Linked DNA regions of Homo sapiens: all the other regions are linked to region 1. The links are contacts of gene promoters, found by promoter capture Hi-C in human tissues and cell types (Jung and others, 2019). All regions are on one chromosome and are shown on one strand. Each heading gives the region's core, a stretch centred on a gene start or on the middle of the fragment in contact. The rest is flanking DNA. Distances are from core to core; before and after follow the strand shown. Region 1 holds the start of KLHL32 (kelch like family member 32). Region 2 overlaps LOC101927314 (a long non-coding RNA gene). Region 3 overlaps LOC101927314 (a long non-coding RNA gene).

Region 1 (3,924 bases), core at 649-3,148:
ACTAATGTCTCTTATTTTAGAGAAATAAAATACTTAAGACAAAATATAAACTTTAAATCAATACTAAGGAGCCATTTAGGAAAATCTTGCCCTCTCTGAACTAGACATTTTACTAGGCATTTACCATTTAAACCTCAACGCCATGTGTCAATGAACAATATTTAGTGAGCCGATACTATGTGGCAGACATTGTGCTAGGGCCAGGAGATACCCTGAGACACTCAGCTTGGGCAGTAAGAGACTCTTCCATAGTCACACAGATGGTGAGTTGGTGGTGTAAATATTCTTTTCCTGTGTAAATGCAATTATAGTCTTTGCTCTATTTAATTATACTAAATAAATAGCTGCTATTTATTCTAAACAGATAATCCAATCAATATAGATGGGCTTAAAATTTTAAGTATTCTCACTTTAGTGACAAACACCTTGGGGATCTTAAAGGACTGTTTTATTTATTGATACCAGTCACTGTCAATATTTTTGGTTCAAAGACGCTTTCATATTCGATTTTCTGATAGAAGACAACGCAATGAAAACTATCAAGTTGCTTATGAAAAATTCTTAGGATGACACTGCACCTAATGTTTGTAGTCAGTTGTTTGTCATTCTTTCCCTTGTCCTATGCTGTGTCCAGGACTGCTAGATAAGTAGGTACCCAGCATCCTAGCGTCCAGATATCAAAACCATGAAAATGAAGCACTACAAGCCAGACAGATAACCTCCAGAGGGAGCAAACGAATAAACCCCCAAATCCTGTGGATCTAGAAGTAGAAAATAATCGCTGAACCACTGATTTGAGACCAATGAGAACATTAAGGACACCTCAAAATAGATCAGGGCACTGTTCCTAGCCCAACTCTGTGGCAGAACATAAACCTGCAAGAAATAGGATTAACATACTATCTTTGCAGTAAGTTAAATCCTGAACTTCTACAAAATACAGTTTACTCCAATTTAGTTACACTCTTCCTGCTTCTGGTGTCTTACCTCCACGTTGGACTAAGGTTTTCAATTCGGTGGTGGAATACTTACCTATTAAAATTACCCACTTTGCTTTAGTGTGAGTTTCTCAGCATGTTTTACACAGGAGTGACCTGAATGACTCGGAAGTGGCACTTGAGTGTGCCAGGCCCTGGAATTTAATGGTATGGTTCTGTGGTTGTTGTCTGTTTGCGGTTTTATTGCTGAATTAGTAGTAACCACAGTAATCACACCCTTTCTCATTTCTCAGGCTTGGGGATTTCGTCCACCTCTGGCGGGTTGGTTCCCCTGACGTTTCTTAAAGTTACTGTGAATTTGTTCTGGTCAGTACCATAGAGTGTATTATCCTAAGGAGGGCCACTGTAGGGCCGCTAGGACTAGAGGCAACTTGAACTTCACAAGTTAGCAGAGCAAGGACTCCCTGGAACACCGAGTTAGGGCCACGGGGTCTGTTTGCTCAGATTGCCCGCCAGCCCTGGGAAAGGAGTCTGGGGGCGAGCAGGCTGGGTTCCCGGGTCTCAGTCGCCGCAGTGGTGGCTACAGACTGCGCATGTGACCCAGGGGCCGGCGACGCAGGTGCCGGAGAGCGAGGAGGAGGGCGGCGTGGAGGAGGGTACTTCCGGGACCGGCGGGCGCGCGCTGGCAGCTCGCCGACGGCGGGGGCGGGGGCGGGGGGCGGCAGGGGAGCGAGCGCGCTGGCGGCGGGCGGTGGCGTTGCGCGCGGGGTGGCGAAAGGATGTGCGCGGGATCGCGGGGGAGGGGGAGGGAGCGCGCGGGCTAGCTGGAGGCGGGAGGGGGCGGAGCCCTGTGGCGTCTGAACCCGCCCCGGGGGTGCCAAGGTGCGTCTCCAGTCTGACGCGACCGCCTGGGGCGGAGTCAGCGGGACGTGCCACCTGCAGTGCTGGCTAGGGCTTTTTATTTACTAGGGAGCAGTTTCCCCGCGCGACAGTTCGGGAGCGCGCAGGCAGTCGCGCGCACACACGCACGCAGGCACACACACACACACACACACACACACACACACACTTTCGCACACACAAACACGCTAGGACGCTCGTCTTCGCTACTGCATCCCCGAACCAGCAGAGCGAAGCTACTGCGGGTTCTGTTAACCTCAGCATCGTGGGGCGAAGCAGAGCCATTGTGCATCAAGGAGAGGCCGGTGCCTGCGCTGCCGTCTCTGGCACCTAACCCAGCAGACCGCTCACCCCATCGGGTAAGCCAGTCTCTCTCCTTGTAACCTGTTCTGCAGACCTGAGGAAGAGGGTGGGAGGCTGCTGGTGCGCCAAGTGGGGGCAGACCCGGAGTTGACATTTCAGGGGCTTGCAGCCCATGCAGCCTCTGCCCGTGTCGTCTAACGGGAGCAGCCACTACTCAGGTTACTTATGCTGCCAGCCCTGGAGTCGCTCCCCCTTTCTTCCCTCCCCCTGAGCCCAATATGTACTGTGCTCCTTGGTTGCCAAGGAGACTTGCTTAAACATCAGCCGTGGGACATCTATTGAAAGAACTGGTTTCTTAAATGATGCCGTTATTTATTTTGATATTTAAAATAAAATATACACTGAGGACCTTTCGTAATTTGGCATTTGTTAATCTGTATTCAGGTGGCGGTTTCATTCAACTTCAAGAAAAGCCGTAATTGCACTATATGGTATGCTTTAAAAAGGATTCGTCAGATGAATTTTTCAACGGATTGTGTCTTGAATCATAATTTACTCCCATTTTGGTGATCTTATAAAGAAAGATGACTGCAGTTTAGATCCCTTCTTCCCCTCTATTTCCAGTTTTATTTTGCAGTTCACTTAGTCGTGATTATTTTAAATTAAAAGCAGATGATTTAATTGTGTTTCCCCACACAAGAATGAGCTTCTATTGTAAATTGACCAGAACAGGAATACGTTTGTGAATTCGTAACGTAAGAAGGTAGCATTCATGACATACATCTTTGCTAGCATTTTTATATCCCCTGCATCAGTATTGAAGCGCAGTTTTTTGCACCTCTGCTCATTTCTGAGAAGATTCTGTTTTTTAAAAAATCTCTTATTGATTATTTTTAGATCTATCTCTATACACAGATAGAGATAGATATAAAATGTGTGCCATGGCTTACTAGAGCTTATATGAAAGTGCAGTGGTTTTTGCTTTTTGTTTTTTTTCTGATGGGACTGGGTCCTCTACTGGAACACTGATAGGCCAATGGAACAGGTCAGCCTAATACCTGGGCTGTCAGTTTTGTTTTATTTTGAGGTCTCGGGTGTCTATTGGGTGAACTTGTAACACAGTACTTGAAGGCATCAGCAATCCAGTAATTACACTTTGCACGAATTTCATGCCTCCATCACAAACAAATGGCCCAGTAAAGATCCACTGGCATTCAAGAATTAATTTTGTTTTCCTTGGATATTTGTTCATCTTTTCTACTTCTTGTTAAATGACCCAAGGAAATAAGTCAAATTCTTCTAATTTAGATTTTAAACTCTGTCATAGAGAGTGTAATAAATAATGTGAGGAGCAAGTAAGCCAAATAATGACAGAGGTAGATAGAGGGGATTTATGCAATTCACAGAGCTTTGGGAGATGAATGATGACAAACATTTTACATTACAGTGTAGAAAGCACTTTTCATATACTTCTTTTTTAATCCTCACAACAACCCTTTGAGGCCAATAAATTACCTTCCATTTAAAGCTGAGGAACCCAAGACTCAAACCTTGCTGAAGGTCACAGCTAGTGAATGGGGAAGCCCTTTCTGGATCCAGTCTCCTTGCCTTTAAAAAAAAGTTGTGTGTGCGTTTCAGATGTGTGCAGGGATCTGACAAGTGAGATAAAGGAGTGGAGCAGGCCTAGACAAGACACGTGGGAGAGAGGGTAGGGAGTGGAGTGTGAACTGTGGCCTCTGGAACTTGCAAACCACTGTAAAGGAGGCAGCTCCCACTCCACTGT
Region 2 (4,245 bases), core at 1,309-3,808, 730 kb after region 1:
TCAGAGCTCAGTTTTTCTATAAGCGAAGATAGTAAATGTTTTCAGCTTTGTGGGCATAGTCTCTGGAGTAACTATTCGCTCTGCTGTTATAGCACAAAATCAGCCATAGACAATGCATAAACAGATAGGAGTGGCTCTGTTCCAATAAATATTTACCAAGAACAAGCAACTGGCCAGGTTTGGCCCATAGACCACTGTGGGCCTACCCCTAAAATATATCATGTAACGTTCCATCCAGCATGTTCTCTGGAATTACCACTAAGCTTGGAGTTGGAAGCATAGATTTTAATTTTACTTACATGAGCTAGAGTAAGTCACGTAACCTTTTCAGGCTTTGTTTTTTCCTGATACATAAAATAAAAGGGAATAAATTGTCATTTAAGCTTATTAGAACTCAAGTTATTATTAAAAAAAGAAGCATTTCAACGCAAAAATCTTAATGCTCAACATAAAATGTGAAATCTCTTATTGTATATTCACCATTTGTATCCCATTTTACAATGCATTGTAGTTGATGTTATTTTTGAGAGTGAGGACTATGATGTTTGGTTTCCACTCATCTAAATAAAATAAACTTTACTGTTACTTTTTTGTTGTTTTAGAAATAATAACTTAATGATATATATGAAAATGTGTAATAAATAACAATGTTTTAATGGGTCTTCTATTGTGTTTGAAAAATGAATTAGAAAAGCTCTGCTTCAGGTTTATTTAATTAACTGGAATAAGGTTTAAAAGACGATGATACTAGAGTCTGTAAAATATTTATCACTAAATATAAAAAATATAAATTTCCAAGAAAGCAACATTACCAGTTACAATGGTAACTACAAATGTCTCAGCTGGTTCATAAATGCAGCTTATTTTTGAATGACTATTTAAATCTAAATTTTAGTACTTCTTTACATATTGATAATCCAAGGTGACATGCCCCTACTATTTTCCTTGGGCATTTTAGAACAAAAGAAAATAAACATCTCAAATTCAAATTGAAATGTGAAGTCAAATCTTGATCTTTTCTTGAGGTAGTACAATTATTTTGTTCCAATTTTTTCACATGCTAACATATTTGTAATAGTCTTTTTACAAGTCACCCCTCCCTTCTTCTACTCCTTCCTTCCTCCCCTCCCCTCCCCTCCCCTCCCTCCCTCCCTCCCTCCCTCCCTCCCTCCCTCCCTCCCTCCCTCCCTCCCTTCCTCCCTTCCTTCCTTCCTTCCTTCCTTCCTTCCTTCCTTCCTTCCTTCCAGAAATAGTTGTTAGCTATGCTGGATAAAATACTCTCCAGTACCTGGGAATAGAGATTAGAGAACAGTAAAGATAAGTAAACAGGCAATTGCAATACATTGTGAAAAATACTATAATGCAAAAGTTGTTGAAGGATACTTTAGGGGCAATTATGAGGAGAAAATATCCTAGTGAGGTGACACTAAGCTGAGACACAAAGAATGAATGGGAAGGTGCTAGTTGAGTATGGGAGGGATGGAGTCATGAGCACATGAAAACCAAATGAAAATTAGCTCATGTGCCACAAATTTGAGGATTTGCCTCAGTGGACAGATGGGAGGCTTTTAGACTCAATCCAGAGATGTGGAAATAAATTGTTGACATAGTATGGTTTTGTGGAAAGAATATGTGCTTCTGAGAAAGGCAGATCTAATTTGAAACCTGGCTTTACTTTGGCTTTGTGACTTGGGCATATTATTTAACCTTCTTGATTCTCAATTTCCTCATTTGCAAAATTGAGATAATGATATGTATTTTAAAAGAATGTTGTAAGGATTTAATAGGATAGCCACACAAAAGCGGTGGCTCATGCCTATTATCCCAGCACTTTGGGAGGCTGAGGTGGGCGGATCACAGGGTCAGGAGATCAACACCTGGCCAATATGATGAAACCCCTTCTCTACTAAAAATACAAAAATTAGCTGGGTGTGGCAGCCCGTGCCTGTGGTTCCAGCTACTCAGGAGGCTGAGGCAGGAGGATTGCTTGAATCCGGGGGGTGGAGGCTACAGTGAACCAAGATTGTGCCACTGCAGTGAGCCAACATCGCGCCACTGCACTCCAGCCTGGGTGATAGAGCAAGACTCGGTCTCAGAAAAAAGTGCCTTCCATGGAATTAATGTTTAATTAAAATTAGTTGCTAGTTACTTATTCTTCATATCTTAGTATTGGGAAAAGTTGAAGTCATCTGTGGAAAAAAAAATGTCTTTGACCGTAATCAGAGTACCCAGAGATTGGTTATGCAAAGAATTTTACAACTATCCTCTTTTTTTGCTCCCTCCCTTCTTCTCTCCCCCCTTTCTTATTTCTGCCTCTGTTTTCCTCCTTACAATTATGTTTTCTGTATAAGAAGGGGTTAGTGTCTTCTTCCCAAGCTTTAACTAAAATATGCTTGAGGGCACTTTTGGCTATGTTTCCATAGCTCCTAATGAAGAGTGTACATGCCATAATTCTTGTTTATAATGGAAGAAAAAAGTACAAAACCCAGAAAGGTCTCTAAGCAGAATATGGGGCCACTACACTTAATTAGCTAGGTGCAGTACAGGTTTGGAGTTCTTGGTGTTACCAACGGCATCCATAAAGGACGGAAGCGTACCTTAGGCAAAGAGCTCCACTACATGGTGGCTGTGTCCTTGCAATGGGACAGGCCCTAGCAAAGTTGAAGAGAATGGCAGTTTGAACTTCTCTGGGATACTGGAAGTGTCTCTTGCATAGCCTTTCAATAGTAGTAAATAGTATTTACTACCACTGAATACTCTGCTGATTATTAAGCTGTTATCTCTTTATCTTCATGTCCATTCTTCCATCTTCAGCTTTGTAGACATTCTTTTAAATTAAATATGTTTGTAAATAATGAAGTTAAGGGATGTTATAATGACTTGAGAAGTATAATTTTCCCAAGATTATTTGTCTGTTAAAATCCCTAAATATTTATATCTAAATTATTCTAAATATCCAAACTAAACCCAAACTAAATTTTCACTTTGGGGACCTTTAGCTTCTATCCAACTTACAACATTGCCCTTATGTATTTTTTTTAAAACTAGAACTTCGAAACTTAATTACATTTTCAAACCAAAGATCTCCAATATGGACTTACTATAAATTGTAGTATATCAATTGATGTTTAACTTTTAAATTTTATATGTATAATAGTTATAATTAATCTCCAACATACAGAAAAGTCTGTATTTGTTTTTACAAACTGAGCAGCATAAACATCAACTTGATTAATCTTTGTAGTCTTTTATCACTTTTATTTGCAGGTCTCTTAGTTTGCTTATCACCTCCTTTTTTTATTGTTGTAATTCCTTGATGTATTGTATTCCCTAAGTCTCCTAGGTATTTTAACTACTAGTCTTTTATTTTCTGGTACTCTACAAACATATTTAGTTTTACTTAAGACAAAACTATGAGATATGAATTGGGGTTCATTATTTATGGTCTTTTCTCTAAGGGATACAATTAGAAAAATAATGACAAGTGAGAGAAAACTCTTCTGTAAAAGTACAAAAATGCTTCATTTTATTCAAAAAGCAAGTTAAAACAGCTGCAATAGTACATAATGATATACATAATTTCCTGGGTGTATTGCCTGGATTCTTTTTAACCCTTTAAAAATAGAAATATTTATTATTTCAATAAAAGAAAGCAATCACATAGGACCAAGAGCTCTTGCTAAAAATGTGTATATTTCATACATTCTACTTGTGAAATATAGTAGGGGAAATATTTACGAGCACCATAAGATAGGAAGCTGAAACTGAAATCATTTCTAAATGAAAATTATGTGACAGTTTATCAGTATTTAATGCTAACATTGGTTGATGTGAGCATGAAGAATTTAGTAGCCATTTATCATAACTCTGTGTGTGGTTAGTTCTCTGATATACTTGCTTAGAGTAGAATGGTGTTTTAGTGGCAACATGAACCACAGCTTCAGTCTGAGATATTAAATAAATGGAAATGCCAAAAGAGGATTTGTTTTTGTTGCTTGGATTGTGTGTGTGGTTGTTGTTTTTCACATTCCTGTTAAAAGTAGTCTCCCATACCTTGCATGGGTTGGTTTTTGATCCACACTCCCCTGAACTATGGCTGGGCTTCTGCACCAGATGCAGGTGTCCCCTTGTGCTGTCAGCCAGGAATGATTAATGAGGATTTGCCCCTACTGAAAGCAGTCTTTGGAGCATTGTTCAGGGCATCTGTGGAACTGTCGGGGGAGACAAGGACACAAGTGAACAACC
Region 3 (3,903 bases), core at 115-2,614, 750 kb after region 1:
CCGCAGCGCTTGCTGTTTCTTCTTGGCTGCTGTGAGTGTGTGAAGGAGCAGCTTACTTGGTGAAATCCTCACTTAATTTCTTCTGGTGCTGTGGAGCCCCGTTGTGTGATTGTGTTTGACAGTTTTTGTTCTCACAGCCTTTTGAGCATTTTAAAGATTGATAAATCTTGTCATATGAGAACCCCGAATGATGCCCGAATATTTCACATTCTTACAGCTGTAGATCGTTTCTGTATTTTCCTACATTAAAATAAGGCAAGAAAATATTAACTGAGAAATATGGGCAGTGACTCATTTTTCTGCCCAGGAGAAGGTTATGCTGAAAATGTCCCCAACAACAGACTTTTTATCTTGACTTTGGGACCTCTCTGGAGAGAACTTTAGGGTAGCTCTTCTTGTGTAATTAATTGTTTTCTTGAATTTTAAGAGTCGTAGTGGTACCATTGTTTATCAATAGATCCCATATTTCTATTTCTGAAGGTGAACTATTTTTAAATAAAATGACCAAAATGTATCTCTCTTTCTCTCTCTCTCTTTCTCTCTCTCTCTCTCTCTCTCTCTCACACACACACACACACACACCACACACGAAATAAAATAACAGTGACTGATGGTAACTATAGTTTCAGTTATACAACAAAGTGATAAAATCCATGAAGATACTTCAGTTCTGCTGAATCTCTACTTAACATCTCCAGTGGTTCAGAATCTCTACAAGGCTAGTAGCAGCTTAAAGTTTGAAGGATTTTTGTAACCCAAAAAATCAGGATCACCTGACATTTTACCCTGAGCTCAGTCCATTACAAATCATTTCTTCTTTTCTTTTTGAGAAAGTTACCAGCTGGGATCTTCTTTCTTGGCTATACTAAGGGCAAACCAAAAATCTGCACTAAAAGGGATGGGTGCAGATGAACTCATTTCACTATTGCGTATTTAAATAAAGGTAAGTGATAATAAACATGTTAGGTGATAGGTGATATAAAGATTATTATCCTGACAATCACCTCTTTCTAGGATGTTGCATTATGGAAGCATTGTGAGACACAGACACACACACACACACACACACACACACACGAGGGAGGGAGGAAGCAAGGGAGAGAGAAGATATCCCATGGGGGAATATTGATTATTTTTAATAGCCTGATTTAGCTTCTCAATTTAGTTTTTATGTCTTTTTCCTCTTAAGTAGATCTTTCAGGTGTATGTTTTATTCAAATTACAGTGCACCAAGGAGTATAGCTCAAGACAAAGTGAAATTATGTGGATTTAGAAAAAAAGGATCAAAATTATGGTTAGAAGAACTATATACATTTATAATTTTGCAGTACTGATATTTTATTTGATAGCATCTGTCAGAAACCATTAATCAAGTATCTGTATTTACATGGTGCTATACAACATTATGCAAATGGAGAGGCAAGAAAAGCAAGCCTAGGCTACCAGGGAGCTTTTTTCTCTAAGACATATAGAATTAACAAAGTTTTACACACAAGGCACAAAGACTAGAAGACAGCCACTAGCTAAGTGTATAAACTAAATTAACAATTGCATGCAAATAACATTCTATGCCAATGGGTCAGTGAAGAGAGTAGAGGGAACAGTTAGAATCATCATAGAAGTGTACGATGTAGAGAGAAGCAAGAAATGGGAAGGTTTTATGGACAAGATAAGATTTCAGGAGTTTCTTGAAATAAGGAGAAAAGGAGGAGTTATGAACCATTTCTTTCCATTCACAATAAATGCAGTCCTTTCTCAAGGATCTTTTCTCAATCCTTGGCCCTTGGCCTTTAACTTGCTTTTTGAAATGGAGATGACATCTCTGTTAGAGAGGTCAGAGTGAAAATTTTAGCCGTAAAGGCATCAGCACCAAACACTTATTGATGCATACTAAATGCTAAGTACTACTGTAGATGTCATTAAATTCATAACCTCCTCAGTCTTCCCAATGACGCTATGAGCTAAGTATTATTAACTTCATTTCACAGGAGAGGAAGGTAAGGCTAAGAGATGTGAAATACATATTCTCAGGAATATGTAAGTAATAGGGCATAACAGTCCTTCAACTCAGGCCATCATACCTCACATGTTTTGCTTTAATCATGACACATCCATACTTATCCAGTCTTCATGAGACTCCTGTGAGGTTGAGCAAAAGCAACTGTAATTATTTCAATGGTCTGCAAAGAACTCAAACTGTAGTTGAAAATTAGACCTTGCTACTAAGCTTCTTCAGTTTCCAGTAAGGCTTTGGATATTCCTTTATATAATGGTTCTATACAAACCATAATTGAGCAAACACTTGGAATCAGCTAGAAATATTAGGTGAAAGATATTTTTGGATCCCATTCAGAGTTTGTGATTCAAAGGTCTGGAATGTGTTCAAGAATTTACTTTTTTTTTTTTTTTTGAGACAGAGTCTCACTCTGTCAGCCAGGATGGAGTGCAGTGGCACCATCTTGGCTCACTGCAACCTCTGCCTCCTCTCACAGTGTGAGAGGACTAGTGTGAGAAAGCTGCTAATGAAAGAGCTGCTGAATGAAAGTACATTTCACCTGCCTACACCCACCCCCACCCGAGTGTTGTTTCAGCTATCTGCCCATCCACCCACTCCCCTCGGACCTCAGCATGGGCCTGGACCTGACCCTGAGCATGACATTTGGTGTAGTTGTGAACCTGACATAAAGATAAGGGATGTGTTGGGGATAGACAATGTGACTGAACCACAGAAACATCTTATGTAAAAATTTACTTGTCCCCTTAAGTAAAACAGATCAGTTAAACTAATAATATGTAGGCTAAAACCAAGGAGAAAATAAGCCTCCCCCTCTCTCCATTGCAATAGATATTCTGTACAGCACCATACTCTCTATGATGGGCAGCTGTAAGCAGTGACAATCAGGAACAAAGAGTTCATCTTGTTAAGACCACAGCTGCTACGGTGGACCCTGCAGAGAATCTCCTTGGATAATACTCTGCATCTCTACTTTCTTCTGGCTTTCCCTGGACAGATGTGTAGGAGTCCCATGAGTCTGGACCGTGGTCAAGGAACTGCTATTTATACTTCATTAATTATAAGCCATATCCAATACAAAGGGATAAATGCATATTATAGGGGTATTCTGCTATAGGGCCAACTATAGAAAATATGGGAATGACCAATTAATGCTGTTCTCATATTTTGAGTTTTTGGTTCACAACATGCAAATAAACAGTCTTGTTTTTCTTTTTAGAGCTTGGTGAACAGTGTGATTAATTGAATCAAACCACATGAGTGATCTTAGGAGAATTGGTATCAGCTGTGTGCAAATTAATCAAGCTAGGCTAAACGCTACTCTGCAGTTGATAAAACGTTTGTGGTTTACCTGAGAGGAATCAAGGAAGTAAGTGTAGTAAGAATCATGGTTTACAGAGAGATGGGGACCGTGACACTCTTAAACCTGGAATGGCTATAGCAATTGACAGAAGGCAACAACTGCAAGTTTATCTTGTCTCCAGATGATCAGGGCACCTGTTCGTTTAACTATGGCATGTGAGAGGGTCCATTCATATAATGAATGAAACACTGTGGATGCACTCCTGGCCATTATCTCTATAAGAAACAAATCTCATTGTGATTTTGGAATTAATAGATTAATTAAATCTCATAATGCCAGAGGCCAATTTAATAGCATGAATGTAAATCTAGGGTATAGAAAACTAGGAAGAATCAGTGCACCTCTAGGCTTGTTTTTCACAGTTGAATTATTGATTTGGTCAAGATTCTCCAAAGTCTCAGTTGAAACAGTTATTTGCTCATAATAGATGTTCAATAAACATGAACGATTGATTGTCTTGATGACCTAAACCATATAAAGTTGATGCTTATAAACTAGTGTTTTCTGAGCCACACAGATTTCTTGC

What was found. Contacts are between HindIII fragments. The study calls those that stand out against the background at their distance.
Region 2: a fragment that was not itself captured here is called in contact with the fragment with the promoter of KLHL32 in region 1 in 1 of the 25 tissues and cell types used here (hippocampus).
Region 3: a fragment that was not itself captured here is called in contact with the fragment with the promoter of KLHL32 in region 1 in 2 of the 25 tissues and cell types used here (dorsolateral prefrontal cortex and heart left ventricle).

Annotation. Positions count from the first base shown.
Region 1 is chr6:96,922,830-96,926,753 of GRCh38, forward strand. It overlaps KLHL32 (kelch like family member 32), which reads left to right and starts at 1,899. Exons shown (of 11, transcript NM_052904.4): 1 at 1,899-2,197. RefSeq lists a silencer at 1,626-1,935. The HindIII fragment of the contact is 13,841 bases long and covers 1-3,924 here.
Region 2 is chr6:97,652,267-97,656,511 of GRCh38, forward strand. All of the region lies in intron 3 of LOC101927314 (a long non-coding RNA gene), which reads left to right. Among named protein-coding and RNA genes, the nearest start is that of MIR2113, 370 kb to the right of the region's middle. The HindIII fragment of the contact is 7,031 bases long and covers 1-4,245 here.
Region 3 is chr6:97,669,566-97,673,468 of GRCh38, forward strand. The region is part of intron 3 of LOC101927314 (a long non-coding RNA gene); the gene reads left to right. Among named protein-coding and RNA genes, the nearest start is that of MIR2113, 350 kb to the right of the region's middle. The HindIII fragment of the contact is 3,426 bases long and covers 1-3,077 here.